2 separate regions of the Homo sapiens genome follow, and region 1 is linked to region 2. Evidence: promoter capture Hi-C in human tissues and cell types (Jung and others, 2019). All regions are on one chromosome and are shown on one strand. The core of a region is centred on a gene start or on the middle of the fragment in contact, and the rest is flanking DNA. Distances in the headings are between cores, read along the strand shown.

Region 1 (3,538 bases), core at 297-2,796, 140 kb before region 2:
GGACACAGATTCAAACCACATCATTCTGCCCCTGGGCCCTCCCAAATCTCATGTCCTTCTCACACTGCAAAATACAATCATGCCTTCCCAACAGTTTCCCAAAGTCTTAATTCATTCCAGCATTAACTCAAAACTCCACAGTCCAAAGTCTCATCTGAGACAAGGCTAGTCCCTTCTGCCTATGAGCCTGTAAAATAAAAAACAAGTTAGTTACCTCCAAGATACAATGGGGGTATAGTCATTGGGTAAATACTTCCATTCCAAAAGAGAGAAATCAGCCAAAAGAACAGGGCTACAGGCCCTATGCAAGTCCAAAACCCAGCAGGGTGGTCATTAAATTGTATAGCTCCACAATAATCTCTTTTGACTCCATGTCCCACATCCAGGGCACACTGATGTAAGGGCTGGGCTCCCAAGGCCTTGGGCAGCTCCGCCCCTGTGGCCTTCCAGGGCTCGACCCCCCAATGCTGCTCTCAAGGGCTGGCATTGAATGCCTGTAGCTTTTCCAGGTGCAGGGTACAAGCTGCCAGTGGATCTATCATTCTGGAGTCTGGAGAACAGTGGCCCTCTGTGATGGTTAATACTGAGTGTCAACTTGATTGAACTGAAGGATGCAAAGTATTGATCCTGGGCATGTCTGTGAGGGTGTTGCCAAAGGAGATTAACATTTGAGTCAGTGGGCTCGGGAAAGAGGATTCACCCTTAATCTGGTGGGCACAATCTAATGAACTGCCAGCAAATATAAGGCAGGCAGAAAAACGTGAAAAGGAGAGACTGGCCTAGTCTCCCAGCCTATATCTTTCTCCCATGCTGGATGCTTCCTGCCCTCAAACATTGGACTCCAAGTTCTTCAGTTTTGAGACTCAGACTCACTCTCCTTGCTTCTCAAGCTTAAAGACAGCTTATTGTGGGACTTTGTATCCTAGTAGTTCTGTCCCTCTAGAGAACTCTGGCAAATATAGATTTTGGTACCAAGAATGGTTCTAGAGGAACAGTATTTTAAGAATGGAGTTCTTTCATTAGTTTGGGAGTTTCTGGAGTTGGCTGCTTAATATGATTAGACTCAAAAATGCTAAGGATTCTACTTCTAATAGTATGGAGAACACTGATAGTCCTTGGCATGGATTGTTTAGAGAGTTATACAAAATAAATGCATTTGACACTCCCAATTCACCACTCATGAGAGGCAAGGAGTTTAGTGACTCTATACATAATACCTTTGACCATATGTGCAGAACCAAGGAACGTAATGAAGCTGATTGGTTGCGCCTAAGTTCAGTGGACAAAGTGATGAAAGAAAATGATAAACTCATGGATTCTGTCTCCTGGCTTCAGAAGCAAATACTGAACCTCAAGTCTGTTAAGATTGCCCTAAGTGAAAGTCTTATTTCCTATAGAGAAAGAGCGGGAATTATGGAAAAACAGGCACAAACTCTTATCATGAAAGTGGGTGACCTGCAACAGAAGGTGCATGCACAGCCTCACCAGGTGTCTATTAAAGTGAGATTGATTGGAAAAGAATGGGACCCTGCAACTTGGAACAGGAACATGTGGGAAGACACTGATGAAGCTGGGGATACTGAATTTGTAAACTCTGATGAATCTTTTTTGCCAGAAGGAACAGCTTCCCCATCCCCAGTAGTGGCAACATCCCCTCCCCGACCCATGCTGCCATCAGCCTTTCTACCTTTGTCTGAAGAGATAAACCCTGTGCCGCCTGAGGCAACAGTGATGGCCTCCCCTGAGGTGGTTGCCAGGCAAGGTAATGCTGATTCTCCTCAGGAGCCACCCCCAACCTGCCTGTTTGCTTCTAGACCTATAACTAGACTAAAGTCCCGGCGGGCCCCTAGAAGTAAGGTTGAGAGTGTGACCCATGAGGAGGTGCGCTACACTGGAAAAGAACTGCTTGAGTTTTCTCATTTATATAAACAGAAATCTGAAGAACATGGGAATGGATATTAAGGGTGTGGGATAATGGTGGAAGGAATACAGAGTTGGATCAGGCCGAATTTATTAATTTGGGCCCACTACATAGGAACTCTGCTTCTAATGTTGCAGCTTGGTGAGTTAAAAAATGTTCTAATAGTTTATTTGCTTGGTTAGCTGAAATATGGACTAAAAGATGGCCCACTGTAAGCAAGCTGGAAATGCCTGATCTCCCTTGGTTTAATGGAGAGGAAGGGATCCAGAGGCTTAGGGAGATTGGGATGATGGAGTGGATTAGTCACTTTAGACCTCTCATCCCAGCTGGGAGGGTCCAGAAGATACACCCTTGACCAATGCCTTGCAAAATAGATTTGCGAGGGTGGCACCTGCATCTTTGAAGAGCCCTGTAATTGCTCTTCTCTGTATGTCAGATCTAACAGTGGGAACTGCAGTCACTCAACCACAAAATTTAAATACAATGGGAGTAATTAGATCCTGAGGTGGCAGGAGCCAAGTGGTGGCACTCAACCTTCAAAGGCAAGGTGGGCGTAGCTACCTTATTGGACAGCAGAGGCAAAGTGGCAATCAGAATGGTCTGACTCGTGTAGAGTTATGGCATTGGCTAATTAATCACGGTGTTCCTAGAAGTGAAATTGATAGGAAGCCTACTGCATTCGTACTTAATTTATACTAGCAGAAAACTTCTAGGTCGAATGGACAAAAGACTAATTTAAATTATAAAAACAGAGAATAATGGCCCCTCAATCGATTTCCAGACTTGAGCCAGTTTACAGACCCAGAACTCCTTGAATGAAGGGGAGGCCAGGTACCCTTGAGGAAGGACCTCACTACGTTATCGACAATTTGAGCAGTGAATCTTTCTCCCATCCTTCCCCAAGGAGACCTCCAGCCTTTTACCAGGGTACCTGCCCACTGGGGAGAGGGAAATGATCGACATTTAAGGAACTAGTGGACACTGGCTCTGAGCTGACATTGATTCCAGAGGACCCAAAATGTCACTGTGGTCCTCCAGTTAAAGCAGGGGCTTATGGAGGTCAGGTAATTAATGGAGTTGTAGCTCAGGTCCAACAAAGAGTGGATCCAGTGGGTTCCCGGACTCATCCTGTGGTCATTTCCCCAGTGCATAATAGGCATAGACATTCTTAGCAACTGGCAGAACCCCCACATTGGCTCCCTGACTGGTAGGGTGAGGGCTGTTACGGTGAGAAAGGCCAAATGGAAGCCATTAGAGCTGCCTCTACCTAGAAAAATAGTAAATCAAAAACAATATCGCATCCCTGGAGGGACTGTGGAGATTAGTGCCACTATCAAGGACTTGAAAGAAGCACGAGTGGTTATTCCCATTCAACTCTCCCATTTGGCTGTGCAGAAGACAGATGGATCTTGGAGAATGACAGTGCCTTATCATAAGTTTAACAAAGTGATGACTCCAATTGCAGCTGCTGTACCAGATGTGATAAAGATAATATATATTATATATATTTACATATATTATATATATAATACATATTATATATATTTACATATATTATATATATAATACATATTATATATATTTACATATATTATATATAATACATATTTATATTTT
Region 2 (3,335 bases), core at 799-3,298:
AAAATATGTCAAGCCATAAAGAAACTGAAAAGCAAATCAGCTGATAAAAATACAAGTAGACACACTGCAACATTGTTTAGCTCCCAACTGTAACAAGAAAAATAGAAAGATGATAGATATATAGATAAACAGCCTCAATGCATCGATCATGCCATCTCATAAATTCCAGTCCATTTAACAATCTTACTTATTTTTTGTAAATTAACAAAATTGGCACGTTGTTGTTTAGAAAATGAAAAAGAATAGAAACAGCCAGCAAACATATTACAGTCAAGTCCTACAAGTATTGATTTGAAGAGCTGAAGAGACCAATGCTATATTTATTGACATTAAGGGGATTTCTCTCTTGGGATACCAAGAAATGAGGTATCCTGAGAGAGAAGAAGCTCAACTTCCTTTACCTGCAGTGAAATCATTGGCCTTATCTATCTTCTTGTGAATTCATGTACAGATAAATTCTAGACCCCTACCTACACTTCAGGTTGTAGGTAAAAACACTGAAATCTCCAAATTTGTTTCGTTTTTATGAATATAATTGGTATAATAACAGCTTTTGGCAAAAGGAAACGGAGGGGGAGTATGATCTACTAATAAAAATAGTATCTGGACATTTATTACTTTTTTTATGCTTAATGTGCCTTTCATTCTTATAACTTAGCCAAGAGTTTTCCAGCAGCTGGAAATCTTTGAAATTAAACGATGCATGTGATTCAAAGAACAGTTATATCTCAGATCTAAGATGCAGAATGCATAGAGTTACCATTTCTGTTCAGTGGCATCATATAATTATGATGTAAACCTAATGTAAGTACAATGTAATTTTAGGTGACCGTCTCAAAGTCTTGCTAAAAATTATCCCAGGCACGTGTGTGACACACACAGACACACACACACACATATATAACTACTGTAATTAAGAGCGATTCTTCTGTGCGCTCCTCCTTATACACGCTTTAAAGCTGTTGGCCATAGTGGGTTCCGATTTGTGTTTGAAGTACCGCACAAGGAAGGTGGCCTGTGAAAAACGGGAAGGAAGGAGGCAAAACAGGAAGATGGAAGAAGAGAGTAGGCATGAAGGAAAGTGACAGGAGAAAGGAGGAGAGCCTCTTCCTTCCCCAACACACTCTTGTAGCTAGAAAGGTCCAAGCCCCCTCACCAAACACCAGACAAATCTTCCCAAAAGTTCCTGGCAGAGCCTTGGTGATGCCGAGGCTTGAGTGCGCCCCTCCTTGGTGCCCCAGCCACCAGGGCACGCAGGAGCATCCTGGAGCCTCAGCCCAGCAAACTCTTGGGTAGTTCAGGTTCCCTTCCGCGCCCGCTGCCTGCAGTCAATCACTGGGCACCGCGCGCCCATCCGTCACCTACTCCAGGGCTTCCAAGCCCTGAATCCTTCTGCCTCTCTCCATTCTCCCTTAGCCTCTCTCCATCCTCTCCTCCCCAGTGACTTGTCAAGAGGTCCAAGGGCGGAAGCCGAAGCAGAGAAGATGAGGGCGAAAGGCTAGGGGCCGGTTGGCGGATTTCCTACAAGGGGCGACAATGACGCCGTCAAGACGACCATCCAGGCCCGGCGGCCCCATTCCCTCTTTGCCCCACATCAGCCCCACAGCACCCTACACTCTCCATTGAGGCTTCAGTGTGTGATGAAGTAAGAGAATGAGGAAAAATAAACCCGCAGCCTCCTAGGCAGCCCTTACCTCAGGCTGCCCTCGCAGAAGCCGCCCTCCTCCTGCCCGAGGCGCCTCTGCTGCACCGCCGCGGCCGCAGCGCTCTGGACGCCGGGGCTCCGCCCGGCGCGGGTAGACCATGCGCTGCGAGTGAGCCTTCCGCGCTCCCGGGGGTGGGGGACGAAAGTCTGCCCGGAGGGCGCTCGCGTGCAGCCCGGCCCGCGACGAAGAGCCTGCAGCCGCTGAGGCGAGGCCAGGAGCCCCGGGAAGGGGCGCGCGGGCCGGGGGCGCGCGCGCGGACGGGCCAGCGGGCTAGCCTGGGGAACCCGCGCCAGGGAGACACAGGCGCTGGCGACGCGCCCCTCAGCTCTTCTCTCGTCCTCTGGCCCTTTAAACCCCCTCTCCCTACTGTCCACCCCCGCCCCCCGGAAGAGAGACAGCTCGCCGGTGCCACTTGGTCTGCCGCGCTGCGCTCCTCAGCCGGGTGCGGGGAATAACAATGTGACCGTATCGCACGGACGAGATGCTGTGTAGTAGGTTGTAACTGCTGAGGCCACCACCTGTCAATTCTAGGGTGCAAAGCACGCCGTCCCCAGTCGTCTGGCCTCTCCCTGATTGCCCTCCCAGGTTATTTTTTCCCCCACCTACCTCACAGACCTCCTGCAATATTCCGCGGGCACGGTACCAGGGGAGTTTTGCAAAATAACCCTCTCTCCCAGCCGGGAGCTCACTGCATCTCCCTTACCACCAGAGCTGAAGGATTACGCACAGCCCTGCGTGCCTATCCAAAGCCAGAGACCGAAAATCCTGGTTTGAACCCCACACTCGCCGGCCCCCCAGCCCCCATTCATAATCCCAGCGGCCGTCTGCCACTACACACCCTCCCCCGGCCGCCCGCGCTCTTTCCCATTCGCCGTCCCTGGAACGTGTCAGTCACTCGCTGTGCATCTGCCATGAATACAAGACGAAGAGCTCTGCAGCTACTGGCTGCACAAAGAGGGACTGGGGCGCAGGGGACGCAGACCCCCGGGTTGGGGGAGGCGAGAGAGCCAGCGGGGCACATTACGTGGAAGGAGCCAGTGGGACCGTGGGAGTCCTCTGGTCTCCTGTTGCACAAAGGAGCGCCAGAGTGAATACGCGCAGTGCTCCTGAACCAACAGGTCAGATCACCTCCCAAGAGGTGCTCCACCAAGACACCCCTGAAGGTGAGTCCCACAACTTGGGAATTCGTGTGATGGAGCAACAGGCACTCAGTAACCTGACTGAGCCTGCTTTAAAAATGCAACAGGATGGAGAGAGAGCGAGAGCGAGAGCGAGAGAGAGAGAGAGAGAGAGAGAGAGAGAGTGTGTGTGTGTGTGTGTGTAGAGTGGGAGAGGTATGCTGGAAAGCACAAGTTTCCTTTTCCCCGGTTGTCCAGCCCTTTCAGTCAGAGAAAAAAAGAAGGAAGCTGGCAAGGAAAAGAGGAGGAAGATAGGCATGAAGTAACTTTGCCTATCCAACTACTACAGTAGCTAGAGACCAAAATGACTTTAATAGACAACATTCGCCTGTTTCTCGATTTATTCCAATAAACATCATGCACACCTACTGTGCACTGAGCACTTTGCAGAAGCTAAGGATGCAGAGTCGATTAGGACATAGTCTCTGCACCCAAGGAGCTCACTGCCTAA

What was found. Contacts are between HindIII fragments. The study calls those that stand out against the background at their distance.
Region 1: a fragment that was not itself captured here is called in contact with the fragment with the promoter of PDE4B in region 2 in 3 of the 25 tissues and cell types used here (H1 embryonic stem cells, bladder and liver).

Annotation. Positions count from the first base shown.
Region 1 is chr1:65,927,407-65,930,944 of GRCh38, reverse strand. The region is part of intron 3 of PDE4B (phosphodiesterase 4B); the gene reads right to left. Among named protein-coding and RNA genes, the nearest start is that of PDE4B-AS1, 120 kb to the left of the region's middle. The HindIII fragment of the contact is 7,284 bases long and covers 1-3,538 here.
Region 2 is chr1:65,791,608-65,794,942 of GRCh38, reverse strand. It overlaps PDE4B (phosphodiesterase 4B), which reads right to left and starts at 2,048. Exons shown (of 17, transcript NM_002600.4): 1 at 1,695-2,048. The HindIII fragment of the contact is 13,295 bases long and covers 1-3,335 here.